Regions from separate parts of the Homo sapiens genome. Here region 1 is linked to region 2. Evidence: promoter capture Hi-C in 16 types of primary human blood cells and fetal thymus (Javierre and others, 2016). All regions are on one chromosome and are shown on one strand. Each heading gives the region's core, a stretch centred on a gene start or on the middle of the fragment in contact. The rest is flanking DNA. Distances are from core to core; before and after follow the strand shown.

Region 1 (6,460 bases), core at 3,066-5,565, 640 kb before region 2:
TACGGCAGGCACGAATCATATGCAGCTGCTGAGCCCCTGAAATGAGGCTAATCTGAAATGAGATGTGCTGTGAAGTGCAAAACACACACCAGATTCCAAAGATTTAGTATGATGAAAATAATGTAAAATAACTCGTTAGTAATTTATAAAAATTGACTACATATTAAAACATACTTTAAATAATTAAGTTTTAAAATTAATGTCCTTTTGTTTTGTATTTTTAAAATGCAGCTACAGCCAGGCACGGTGGCTCACGCCACTGCACTCCAGCCTCGGCGACAAAGCGAGACTCTGTCTCAAAAAAAAAATAAATAAATAAATAATGCAGCTACTAGAAAAATTTTAAAATATATACGTAGCCCACATTATACTTCTATTTAACTGTGGTGCTCTGGGCCCTCCTTCAAGAACTGCAGATTTGGCCAGGTGTGGTGGCTCACACCTGTAATCTCAGCACTTTGGGAGGCCAAGGCAGGCAGATCACTTGAGGCTGGGAATTTGAGACCAGCCTGGCCAACATGGTGAAACCCTGTCTCTACAAAAACTACAAAAGTTAGCCGGGCGTGGTAGTGCACACCTGTAATCCCAGCTACTCAGGAGGCTGAGGCAGGAGAATCGCTTGAACCCGGGAGGTGGAGGCTGCAGCGACCTGAGATTGCACTACTGCACTCCAGCCTGGGTAGCAGAGTGAGACTCTGTCTCAAAAACAAAAAACAAAGAAATAAAAAAACCCCCTGCAGATTCAAGATCAGAGGTCCCATGACAAAGTGACACAATTTTAATGGGTGAAAAGTAACAGCTGTCCTTTGGAAGAATTAGTTTTGAATTGTGTGACTTTAACACTGAATACCCCAGGAAAAATTAAATTGCTCTGTTAAAGTTTACCTTTTGAAAAGCTTCTCATGTTTAAAATAAAACTATCAATTAGTTTGTCTTCATTTTAACAATGGAAAAGACTGAGACACAGAAGTTATTAAATAGACTCACAGATGCCCTGATCCAAATTACTCTTTACATCTCATCCCCCAAATCAAATCTATTCCTGTTATCCTCCAATTCTTCATATGACCAAGAACTGACCATGTTTTGAAGCGTGTGGAAGTGCTCTATTTTAAAATATTTTTCAAGAAAGCCATATTCAGTACACGGCAAAACAAGGCTTGATTTTCAATGGCCACGTGCTCCCCTTTAAAATTTTATAACTCAATTTAACTTTTCCAATAGCTTTGCAGTATGAAAATTCAGTTTATCTAAAAAATGTACTTCACCTCTTCTGTGAATAAGGTATTTTAAATCACAATCTTATCACTTACTACTTTTTCCTGAGTACATAGGTATTAACTATAAGGCATATGAATCCAAACGTGGACAGTATCTTTTTCTTTTTTATAAAATTGAGATAACTGTACACATTTGTTTTGTTACCTAACACAGGCAACTGTTCACAATTTACTATTAAGCATACTAAATTATGATCCCTTGAAGCCTACAGAGCCTCTACTCCACCCACTATACATTTGTATACTTCCATAATATTTTCTTTAAATAAATTCCTGGAATTCATATCACAGAATTCAAGGTAAGACATTTATTTTTCAGGCTTTTGATTCTGTTTTTCCAAACTGCTTTTTAGAAAGCAGAAGTATAGAAGAGTGCCTGTTTCCTTGCACTCTTGCCAAAATCAGATTTGTTGGGTTCAATTTTGCCAAGACAGTCACTGAAAAGTAAAAGCCCATTGTTTTCTTTACAACTGCGTACCATGCACTTACATTTACACCTTATGCTGTTATCACTGAACCACAACCCCACCCTCCACTACCTCTGGACCTTCATGCAAACTCAATGAACCGGAAGTGTAGATTTGCAAAAATGCAGTACTACTAATGCCACTGTTTAATTTGTATAACAATAGCTCTATCGTCTTTCTAAGTACATTCAGGATCCATGTCAAAGATATGCATATGGGATATTTTTTAAAAAGAAACAAGTACAAATAAAGGAAAGCTGCCACTGAGCACCCACCTGCTTCAGCCTGTCATAGTCAAGTCCTTCCGTCTGGACTCCATTGGCACTGGGCTGTGATAAGGGTGTGGATTTTGGTCTGTATAAATGAGATTTCCAGGACAGGTAAACAACATTCTTAATACTTAATGAGTTCATAAATAATTGCAAATTTACCAACCCAACACCAGATTTAAATACATTTCTTTAAAAAAGCCATTTTCTTAAAAAATTATCAAAATTGTAGGGCTGATTAGAACATAAAACAACATTTTTTCACTTTTCTCAGTATTTCTTATTTATAAAGGAACTAGAAAAAGGTGACAAGATGGTGAGACTTCTTCAGAAAAGAGTAGAAGACAGTATTCTTTGGGCATGAGGTAACCAGGTAACGTGGCACGTTGACCAAAACAGTGATGAAGAGGCCAGCTGAAACATCTGAGGCTCAAATAACACAATCTTGTTTTGTCTTTCTTTTGAACTTTTACATTATCTACTTAAATACCTGGACAAACCAGTGAAAGGAGAAACATAAAGACTTGAATGTTTTACACTAACATAAATCAGCTTACAAAGCTGATGCCTTGGATTGCAGGAAGAAAACATTTTTAGTGAGCATGATTTGCTTTATACATATTATTCCATTTCAAGCATCAAAATAAAAAATGTTTTAAAAATGTTTATTAGATTAGACTATGTGACTATTTCCTTGTGAAATTTTTATGGAGACGTCATTTGAATGGTGTGTTTCAGGCTAACTACTTCCATAAATTTATTTTATTAAATAAAAAGGATATGCCAGACAGAAGCAGATTGTCAATTATTATTGCACTTTCAAAAGTTTAGTTTCTATTATAATTCTTAATAAGTCAATGATTAGGTATATTTTAAACAAGTTTCAACACCAAATAAACCAGTCATGGCGCCCTCTCCAAGTCCGGCAATAAAAGAGTCCCCAGTGGAAAACCTAGAGTTTTAAATGGGCACTCCTCCGGGTTCTGGTTTAGTCTAGTAAATGCCCTCCTTTATGAGCCACAAATAAATGCAATTTAAAACCATCAGGCAAATCATATATTCCCAATTTTGCAGAGTACCAATGTTAGCAATCTGAAGCAAGACCCAAAAGGCATAATAAATTTTTCAAAGTTATAATTTATAATTCTTATAAGACATAAAATACTTTAAACCCATAGGCATGGTTCCTGAAGATTAAACACTGAGTTAATCTGCTTTTTGTTGTTGTTGTTGCTGCTGTTTATGAGATGCAGTCTTGCTGTGTCTCCCAGGCTGGAGTGCAGTGGTGCGATCTTGGCTCACTGCAACCTCCGCCTCCCCGGTTCAAGTGATTTTCCTGCCTCAGCCTCTGGAGTAGCTGGGATTACAGGTGCACCACAATGCCTGGCTAATTTTTTTGTATTCTGAGTAGAGACGGGGTTTCACCATGTTAGCCAGGCTGGTCTCAAACTCCTGACTTCATGATTTGCCCACTTCAGCCTCCCAAATTGCTGGGTGTAGGTGTGAGCCACCACGCCCAGCCTGTTAATCTGCTTTACTATCAAAACGTATTACTGCTTAAAAGACTGTTAGGAAGCAAGTCGTCCAATTTTACTTTATTAGGTATCTGCTTATATGAATAGGGGGAAAAATAACTTCCAGAAAATTTCATTCAATAAGCACTGAGCTAGGCACTGTAGGGAATAATATTTATATGAAATATTTCCTTTCCTCTTGTGAGGCTACACCTTCTTACTTTGCTAGGGAAGACTACTAAATTCCAAGGTCACTTAAGATTTACTTAGATCCATAAAATGCAGAGTCACTTCTGGCAAATATTCTTAAAGTTTAGGATGTTATTTCATATATTCACTCATGCTACCTATTCCTGTTCTCTAGAATTAAACTATAATTCATACTCTGCTTTTCTTTTACATTTCCCATTTAAGTGGCCCATTTAGCTAGTTATTTTCTCAAGTTATATAATGAATACCTCTGAAATTCACATGAACTACAGCCTGCTATTTAATTGGGCAAGTATGTTATGAATATATCCATATTTACTAGGCAATGCAAAAATTATTGTTATGTAATAAACAATTGTGGAAACATGCAAATTTTTAAAAATTTAATTCATGCTAACATGCAATCCATCACCACCACCACCACCATGATAATTAACTAAAGGGGGGAACTTTTCATACTGAAGGAAAGATGTAATCACCACTTTTTTTCTTAACTTTTACCAAAAAAGTTTATCAATAACATTATCCCAGGGGGTACTATGTGTGAAAGCAGCAAGATAACTGAGCAGATTTACTACATTTAAAAAATATATGTATTTTTGGACACAGGGTCTCATTCTGTCACCCAGGCTGCAGTGTGCATGATCTCAGCTCACCGCAGCCTTGACCTCCTGGCCTCAAGTCTTCTTCCCACCTCAGCCTCCCACAGGCACATGCAACCATGCCCAGCTAATTTTTGTATGTTTTGTAGAGACAGGGTTTAACCACATTGCCTAGGCTAGTCTCAAACTCCTGGACTCAAGTGATCCTCCTGCCTCGGCCTCCCAAAGTGCTGGGATTATAGGCATGAGCCATGGCACCCAGCCTTAAAAATCTCATTGTTAAATGCTACTTTTCTATGTACTAGCAAATTTTCTAAAGAAATCTTTTGGCCAAAACAAACCACCTCAAAAAAAAAAAAAAAAAAAACACAAAACTATTTCACTACTGGAATATAAACATTTTGTGAAGATTTAACTGGCTGACAAAATTAACTTGTCAAGTATTTTGATCATTAATAGCATAAAAATAATTTTAGCAAGTAAGAATTTGGCCAGAGTCTGCTTACAGAACTCCCAACTCACTGCAATAGACATCCACTATGAACACCACTTAATTCATATTCCCAGTGAACTTGATGTATATTTTTTTAAAAAATAGATGTGTAAAATAACATAAATATATTTCAGTTATTTCTAACCTATGGGTTTTCATCATAATTGATCACAAAATGAGGGTTTCTCAGGTTTTTATTTCACTTTTTTTTTTTTTTCCTAAAAGAGGGTCTCACTCTGTCACCCAGGCTAGGGTGCAGTGGTGTTATCATGGCTCACTGCAGCCTCTAACTCCTATGCACAAGATATCCTCCTGTCTTAGCCTCCTGAGTAGCTGAGACTATAGGCACAAGCCACCAGGCCCAGCTAATTTTTTTTTATTTTTTGTAAAGATGGGGTCTCGCTATGTTTCCCAGGCTGGTCTTGAACTCCGGGCCCCAAATGATCCTCCAGCCTTGGCCTCCCAAGGTGCTGAAACTATAGGTGTGAACCACCAGGTGCTGGGTCAGTTTTTATTTTTTTATGATGAGAGCGTTGCCTTTAAACATCTGCCTATAAAATGACTGTACTACTATATTTAAGTCCCTATTCTGTCAAATTAATTGTGTAAGTAACTGAAAAGCATTGCAGGATTATTTTTAGCTGTCAATTTTTTTAATTAAGAAAAAACTAGTTCTTAAGTCTTCTTAATTAAAAAATGGTATAATAGGGCTCATCCTAGAAAACAATCTACTCAGGGTGTTAGATGTTAAACTGTCCAAGATAATTTACTACAAAGTATCTAGGAAACAGAGATTTTCCTCAAATAATCAATTATCCACAACCATGGCTTTAATATTAGTCCATGTTCCAGTAACAGATGGAAAAGGATCTTCTATTCAACTTTTTTGAAACCTTGTCTTATAATCATAAGGCGAACAGCCTTTAAAAGAAAACGCTTAAGCTACAAATGGCCTAGATAATACATGTGGCCTTAGATTCCCAGTCTAGTATTTCTAATATGTTTACCATTTGTATTTATCCTTGAATCCAACTGTGAAGTGATGGCAGAATTTTTAAAAGGTATTCAAAATAAAGAAAAAAAAATCTCCCTTGTGGTGATTACCAATCCAGGTAGAAAAAGCTCAGCCCTATCCTGAACATGTTATTTAAAAGTCTCAAATCACAACGTCACAGCAGGATGATACCTGTGTAATGAATCATAGGACCTGTTGTCAAAAACAATCTGATTTTTCCTTGGAGAATCCCGTCTATGAAGGGGAAAACCATTGAAAGGGATACACAATAGAACTTTAAAAAATAATTCTCATTATGTTACTGTTTTATAGGTTGTTAATAGCAAACAAAACAAGAATTGAGTCTATTAACCTTAAAATAACCAATTTTTCCCCAATAAAAGATATTTTAAGATTACTTTTAGTTATGTGAAGATACCAGTTACAGAAAATTTTAAAAATCATTACACAATGGCTACTTTTTATATAGGTTGTAGGCACAGTAAGTATATAAAAGTATACAAAATTAACTCTTCTCAGGAGGCATGTAAAGGACTAGTTTTCCCATCTTGAATACAAGATCTGTAAGGTCTTAATAACCACAGATGAATGCACCAACTTCCCAAACGTT
Region 2 (6,346 bases), core at 1,234-3,733:
TCTTCCCGTCAATAAAGAAATAACACAAATTAAAGCTATAAAATTTAAGCATGGGCATATGTATTTCCAATTCTCCTTAATAAGTAATTCCAAACTGGAATAATGTGGGGTTTGTGACTAAGTAGTAACAAATTAAAAGAAAATAGACTGTCTCTGGCAGTGATTTCCATATTAGTGCAATGTTACTTCCCATATGCTGAATTATATTTAAATGATTTTATGTATTTTAATTCAGTAGGTGCCAATTTGAGTTTATAAAATCCTTAATTTTATTCTTTGTGCAGAAAAGTTTCAATTTGAGATACTCTATGAAGCCAAAACAAAACAAAACAAAACAAAAAACCTGTATTTTGCTACTAGTAGTATGAATACCAAATAAAGATACAAGGATTCAAAGTTTGTGGAAGTTCCTGAAGAAAAATCTCTGAGGTGTTCTACGTATCTTGATACTTCAATTATCAATTAGTTTTGAACATTCTAGTTTAAGATTATCTCAGAAAATAATTCTCTGTAATATAACTCTGAACTAAACAGCTGCACCCAAAGCAGAAACAATCTGGGTCATTCTGAACGAGATCAAACTGAGGCCATTTCTTTTTCTATTATAATCTGTGAGGTGTTGAGTTTTTAAGTTTTAAAAATGGCCTTTAATCAAAGCCAGCTGCACCTGATATAGACTTGTTAACTTATGGATTTCAAATTAGAGGACACTGTAACTACGGGCTCTCATAAGACACATGGAGCAGGCAGCAAGGGGCTAACCATCAGCCGGGTAAGGTCAACGTTGGGGTGTTTTATTTTGGAGACTTTAAATATTTAACATGTAGCTCATGTAACTTCAGCATCCACTAGTGACTCTGCTGGTCAGCACCCAAGGGCTGGATGAGTCTGAGGAATCTCCTTTAACCCCAAAGTATGAATGCTAAAGAGTCTCAAGGAAATTTTGATTCCCAGCAAGAGTTCACAAACCATCAGACCAATATCAATAAGGTAAACTGTGACTCTAATGCTCCACAAAAGTAAAAAGAAATTTCCAAATTAAATGTCATCTTCTGCCCAACCCTAGACTCCAGACTTTGTAACAACATTTTTATCTAGTATAATAGACTCTGTAGTAGACTGATTTTGACCGCCACAAAGAGTAGGAGTTGTCAAACTTGAGGAGATAGACTCCTCTCCCTGGATATTGATGGCTGCCAGCATACACCTCCTCATGACAGTCCCGTCGGTACACAGGCACAATCTCATCCAGCAAAGGCTTGTTGGCATTCTTTTTGGCTTTCTCTTCACAACCGATGTTTTCTGTAAGAACAGAGACAAGTCAATGAACAGATTCAGGAAAACCACACTTGCATCAGGCAATTAAAATCTATCCTTTCTTTTTTTTCTGGAGACAGAGTCTTGCTCTGTCACCCAGGATGGAGTGCAGCGGCGTGATCTCAGCTCATTGCAACCTCCACCTCCTGGGTGCAAGCGATTCTCCTGCCTCAGCTTCCCAAGTAGCTGGGATTACAGGCGTGCACCACTACATCCAGGTAATTTTTGTATTTTTAGTAGACATGGACTTTCACCATGTTGGCCAGGATTGTCTCAATCTCCTGACCTTGTGACCCACCTGCCTCGGCCTCCCAAAGTGCTGGGATTACAGGCGTGAGCCACCGTGCCCAGCCTATCCTTTCTTTGAGAAACTGCTCTTGTTGGGAATTCTGTTGAACCATTTAACAAGTTATGTGCATGTGAGCATTTATTAGTTCGTTCATTCATTCATTCATTCACTCATTCATTCAAATACCTAAGTATGTGCTATACACCAAACCCTGTTCTGAGCCCTGGGAGCCCAGTGATGAACATCTAGTGGTAGCAGTGGTCAGCATCCTATCTCTTTCTGTGCTTACTACCATTCCTATTTCAAGGTCCCATTTTCCCCTTTCCATAGCCATTCAATTCCTAATTCATCCTCAGGAATTTCACTCATCTGAGTAACATGAAAATGTTGCTCTCATCATCCTCCTTCTGACCAATATGAGTCCTCCCCATTTTAGAAAGATGGAAGATGATTTGTGAGGACTATTGCTTTCTGTATATCTTAAATATAAGCAGTAAAATGAAAAAATCATAGTAGAGAGATAGGCATTCAGAGATACTCTGAAAATTCAATTATTTTCACTAGGCCAATTTAACCCAGAGATGATCTAAGTGGCAAAAAATGGGCTCTGAAAGGTTTGCCCCGGTTAAGAGTTTTTTGAACTGTAATGCTATGAGGTTAGGAAAAAAAATGCCTCTAGAAACCTACAGGAATGAGAAAATTATGAACCAGCTTCGAAGTCACAGTTTAACATATTTAATACAAACCAGCTCAAAGAGGTCAAGGGAGTATTCAGCACAGAAGACAAGACTTTCGGGTTTATGGTTGTTGTTTTTGTTTGTTTGTTTGTTTAAGAGACTGGGACTACAGGCATGGATTTTCAGGTTTATAACATGGCAGAGTGAATTCTGGCAACACACTGAGTGATGCTTGTCAATGGCCACTATCAGGAATTTAAAACAAGGTAAGTTTGAGAAATTCTCACCGTCTATAGCAGATTAAGGAGATATGATGACTGACTATAATGTGGCATCCTGGAAAGGATCTTGGAACATTAGGTAAAAACTAAAAACATCTGAATAAATATGGACTTTAGTTAATTAATGAATCAATGTATCAATATTGTTTCATTAGCTGTGATGAGTGCACCACAGTACAATGTAAGATGCTAACAACAGAGGGAACTTGGTGCAGGGTATATGGGTACTCTTTGTGCTATCTTTGTAACTTTTCTGTAAATCTAAAACTATTCTAAAATTAAAAGTTTATTTTAAAAAAGCAGATGGCACTCTTATAAAGGTAGGTCAAAACCAGATTTACTTAACCACAGAAATACCTATAATTAAGCATGTTTCACATGCAAATGAGAAATACAGAACCATCCAAAATGTACACTATTGTTGACATCCAAGAAATAGACTGGTCCATTGATTCAAGACTCAAATTTTGTTTTAAATCTATAAAACTAAAGATTACTGGGATAGATGAAAAGGCATCTTTTATGAATTTAAGCCAAGGTTTAGGACCTGTAAACAATGAAGAAAATGGAGAATTAAAACAGGAGGATGTGTTACCATCCATGCTTCTTCAGAGAAAGCAAACTCCTCTGTCTACCTTTCAAGACCTAAGGAAGAAAAACCAAACCAAAACCCAAAAAACTCAGACTCTTCTACCATATGAAATACAAGACACGGTAGGACAGTAGCTTCTAAGGCATATGGACAAATACAATTTGTGAGCTAAATCTTTAAATGGGATGAAGTGACGCTCATGTAATGAACAATTCTTAGGAATGATAAAGCTTCACTGCTGTGAGGCTAAAATGTTTTAGCTGCAAATCATTTTATGATTAGGAATGGTACAAGTACAGGGAATGCCATCTTTCATTTGAGGGACATATTAGAACTAAGATCAAGGATATTAAGGTTCTTACCTCTAGAAATGAACCCCTGCCATTTTCACTAGTGATCTTCCCAACACCAATATAACCCCAAAACTATCATCAGCTGAGGGTTCAGACTAGGCAGTAACCACCTTTTAGAAGCTCTCTAATAGGCAAGCCAGGAGAAATACATTACCTCAACCAACTTCTGAACAGAGAATTCTTATTCACAAAGCTCTTTCATTTTTTTTTTTTTTTGAGACGGAGTCTGGCTCTGTCGCCCAGGCTGGAGTGCAATGGCACGATCTCAGCTCACTGCAATCTCCACCTCCCGGGTTCAAGCGATTCTCCTGCCTCAGTCTCCCAAGTAGCTGGGATTACAGGCATGTGCCACCATGCCTGGCTAATTTTTGTACTTTTAGTAGAGATGGGGTTTCACCATGTTGGCCAGGCTGGTCTTGAACTCCTGACCTCAGGTGATTCACCCACCTCAGGCTCCCAAAGTGCTGGGATTACAGGTGTCAGCCACTGCGCCCAGCCATCTTTTTTTTTTTTTTTTTTTTTTTTTTTTTGAGATGGGGTCTGGCTCTGTGGCCCAGGCTGGAGTGAAGTGACTTGATCTCAGCTCACTGCAACCTCTACCTCCTGGGCTCAAGCAATTTTCCCACCTCAGCCTCCCAAGTAGCTGGGACTACAGGTGCACACCATCACACCCAGCTAGTTTTTTGTATTTTTGGTAGAGACAGGGTTTCATCATGTTGCCCAGGCTGGTCTTGAACTCCTGAGCTCTAGCAATCCATCCGCTTTGGCCTCCCAAAGTGCTGAGATTACAGGCAGGGGCCACCGTGCCTGGCCTCACAAAGCTCTTTGTAAGTACAGTAATTTGTATGCATACAAAAAACTTTCCTTCCCAGACATCTGCAGACAGTCTGACTTTAATGAGTCCCTGTGATGCAACAGAAAGGACAGAACAGGTTCTGATGTTGTTGAAGGTCACATGAGAAAACAGTAGTGCCCCCTGGCTAATCTGCTACAGTCCTGCTCTCTAACTGCTTTTTATTTTTTTTAATTTTTTTTTTTTTTTTTTAGAGGGAGGGCCTAGCTCTGTCGCTCGGGCTGGAATGCAGTGGTGTGATCATATAGCTCACTACAGCCTCGAATTCCTGGACTCAAGCAATCCTCTTGCCTCAGCCTCCCATGTACCTGGGACTACAGGTACATGCCACCACACCCACCTAACTAAAAAAAAATTTTTTTTGTCGAGATGTGGTGTCACTCTACAAAACGGGTTGCCCAGACTGGTCTTAAACTTCTGGCCTCAAGAGATCTTCCTTACTTGGCCTCCCCAAAAGCTGAGATTACAGTCATGAGATACCATGCCCAGACAGGCTTTTTCTTTTTTTTATTTTTGAGACGGAGTCTCGCTCTGTTGCCCAGGCTGGAGTGCAGTGGTGTGATCTCGGCTCACTGCAACCTCTGCCTCCCAGGTTCAAGTGATTCTCCTGCCTCAGCCTCCCGAGTAGCTGGGATTACAGGCACCCACCACCACGCTCGGCTAATTTTTATATTTTTAGTAGAGACAGGGCTTCACCATGTTGGCCAGACTGGTCTCGAACTCCTGACCTTGTGATCCACCCACCTCGGCCTCCCAAAGTGTTGGGATTACAGGCGTGAGCCACCGCGTCCGGCCCAGGCTTTTTCAATCTTACATTTTTTCTTTCTGTCTCAGTCAGTATTATTTATGAGCAATGCTTTGCCTTGCTGGTGGTACTCAGGAATAAAGACTGATGAAAACAAAATGCCGTGTAAGACAAAGCAGCTCATGCTTCCATATTTACCAGCTAGAATCTGGACCTGTGGTATAATGAAGGATTTTAAATCTGCTTCTGGGGTAAAAGTCAATCTGCAAGATGTACTGAAATTTCTGGGATACTCTGATGGTTCATGTAGATAATGATACGGAATTATCTTTGGATTATCTTTTGATTAGCATTAAATATTAACTGTTAAATTGAATATTAAACTTAATTTCAAGAAATGTATGGCACACCTGCAGTGTATGTTTCTGTAGATAGCCCCAGAGGCCCCAGGGTGTTGCATGGTATGGTAATATGATTGGACAACTCTGTACTTCACAAGTTGATAGAACTTTCAGGCTTATTCCATGTACTTTCAATAATATCTTTTTAACTTTATCCCACTGTAATCTGTAAAGCAACATTGCCAACCCTCTTCAAGAACAAGCAGTCTGTTTACAAGCCACCTGAAAGGTCAGTTAGTCTGGAAGAACTGAGACATGGTGCTTTTCCATTCTCACAGGGCATGCATTCCATATCACTTTCAATCAAGTCAACAAATAAATTAAGTGCTTATTAAGTGTATATAAACAAACCCTACATTCTAACTTTCCTGGGTAACAAAAATAAAGAGACCCTCTTCTCAAAAAGCAATACATTTATAACCTATTTCTTAGACCAAGATATTTTAGACTGTCCTTTAAAACACCCAATTTTGTCTACTTATTCAGAGGAAGTAAAAAAATTCCACTCTAGCAAAATAGGGATTTCCAAATGGAAAAATAATTGAAATTTTTTTAAGTGGACTATTCTGGTGAGTTTCTGTATTTACATAAAAAATTTTAGAATAATGACCTAAAATGCTAATATCAACAATATAAATTTAAATAAATGCCAGGGTTGACAGGAATTCTTACTTGCTCCTTTAAAATTTTTCAAAGTGGGTCGGGTGCTGTGGCTCACGCCTGTAATCCCAGCACTTTGGGAGGCCGAGGCGGGTGGATCACAAGGTCAGGAGTTCGAGACCAGCCTGACCAACATGGTGAAACCTCGTCTCTACTAAAAATACAAAAAATTAGCCGG

Evidence for each region. The method cuts DNA at HindIII sites, captures the fragments that hold promoters and counts their contacts. A CHiCAGO score of 5 or more calls a contact.
Region 1: a contact is called between a fragment that was not itself captured here and the fragment with the promoter of ACBD3-AS1 in region 2, in 1 of 17 cell types (neutrophils). The highest score is 6.7, in neutrophils.

What each region holds. Positions count from the first base shown.
Region 1 is chr1:225,498,970-225,505,429 of GRCh38, forward strand. It overlaps ENAH (ENAH actin regulator), which reads right to left. Exons shown (of 14, transcript NM_018212.6): 12 at 2,023-2,101. Among named protein-coding and RNA genes, the nearest start is that of LINC02765, 34 kb to the left of the region's middle. The HindIII fragment of the contact is 6,843 bases long and covers 895-6,460 here.
Region 2 is chr1:226,145,520-226,151,865 of GRCh38, forward strand. ACBD3-AS1 (ACBD3 antisense RNA 1) reads left to right here and starts at 2,484. Exons shown (of 2, transcript NR_146443.1): 1 at 2,484-2,549. ACBD3 (acyl-CoA binding domain containing 3) reads right to left here. Exons shown (of 8, transcript NM_022735.4): 8 at 1-1,302. The coding sequence ends at 1,091. It also overlaps the pseudogene LOC124904586. The HindIII fragment of the contact is 12,330 bases long and covers 1-3,384 here.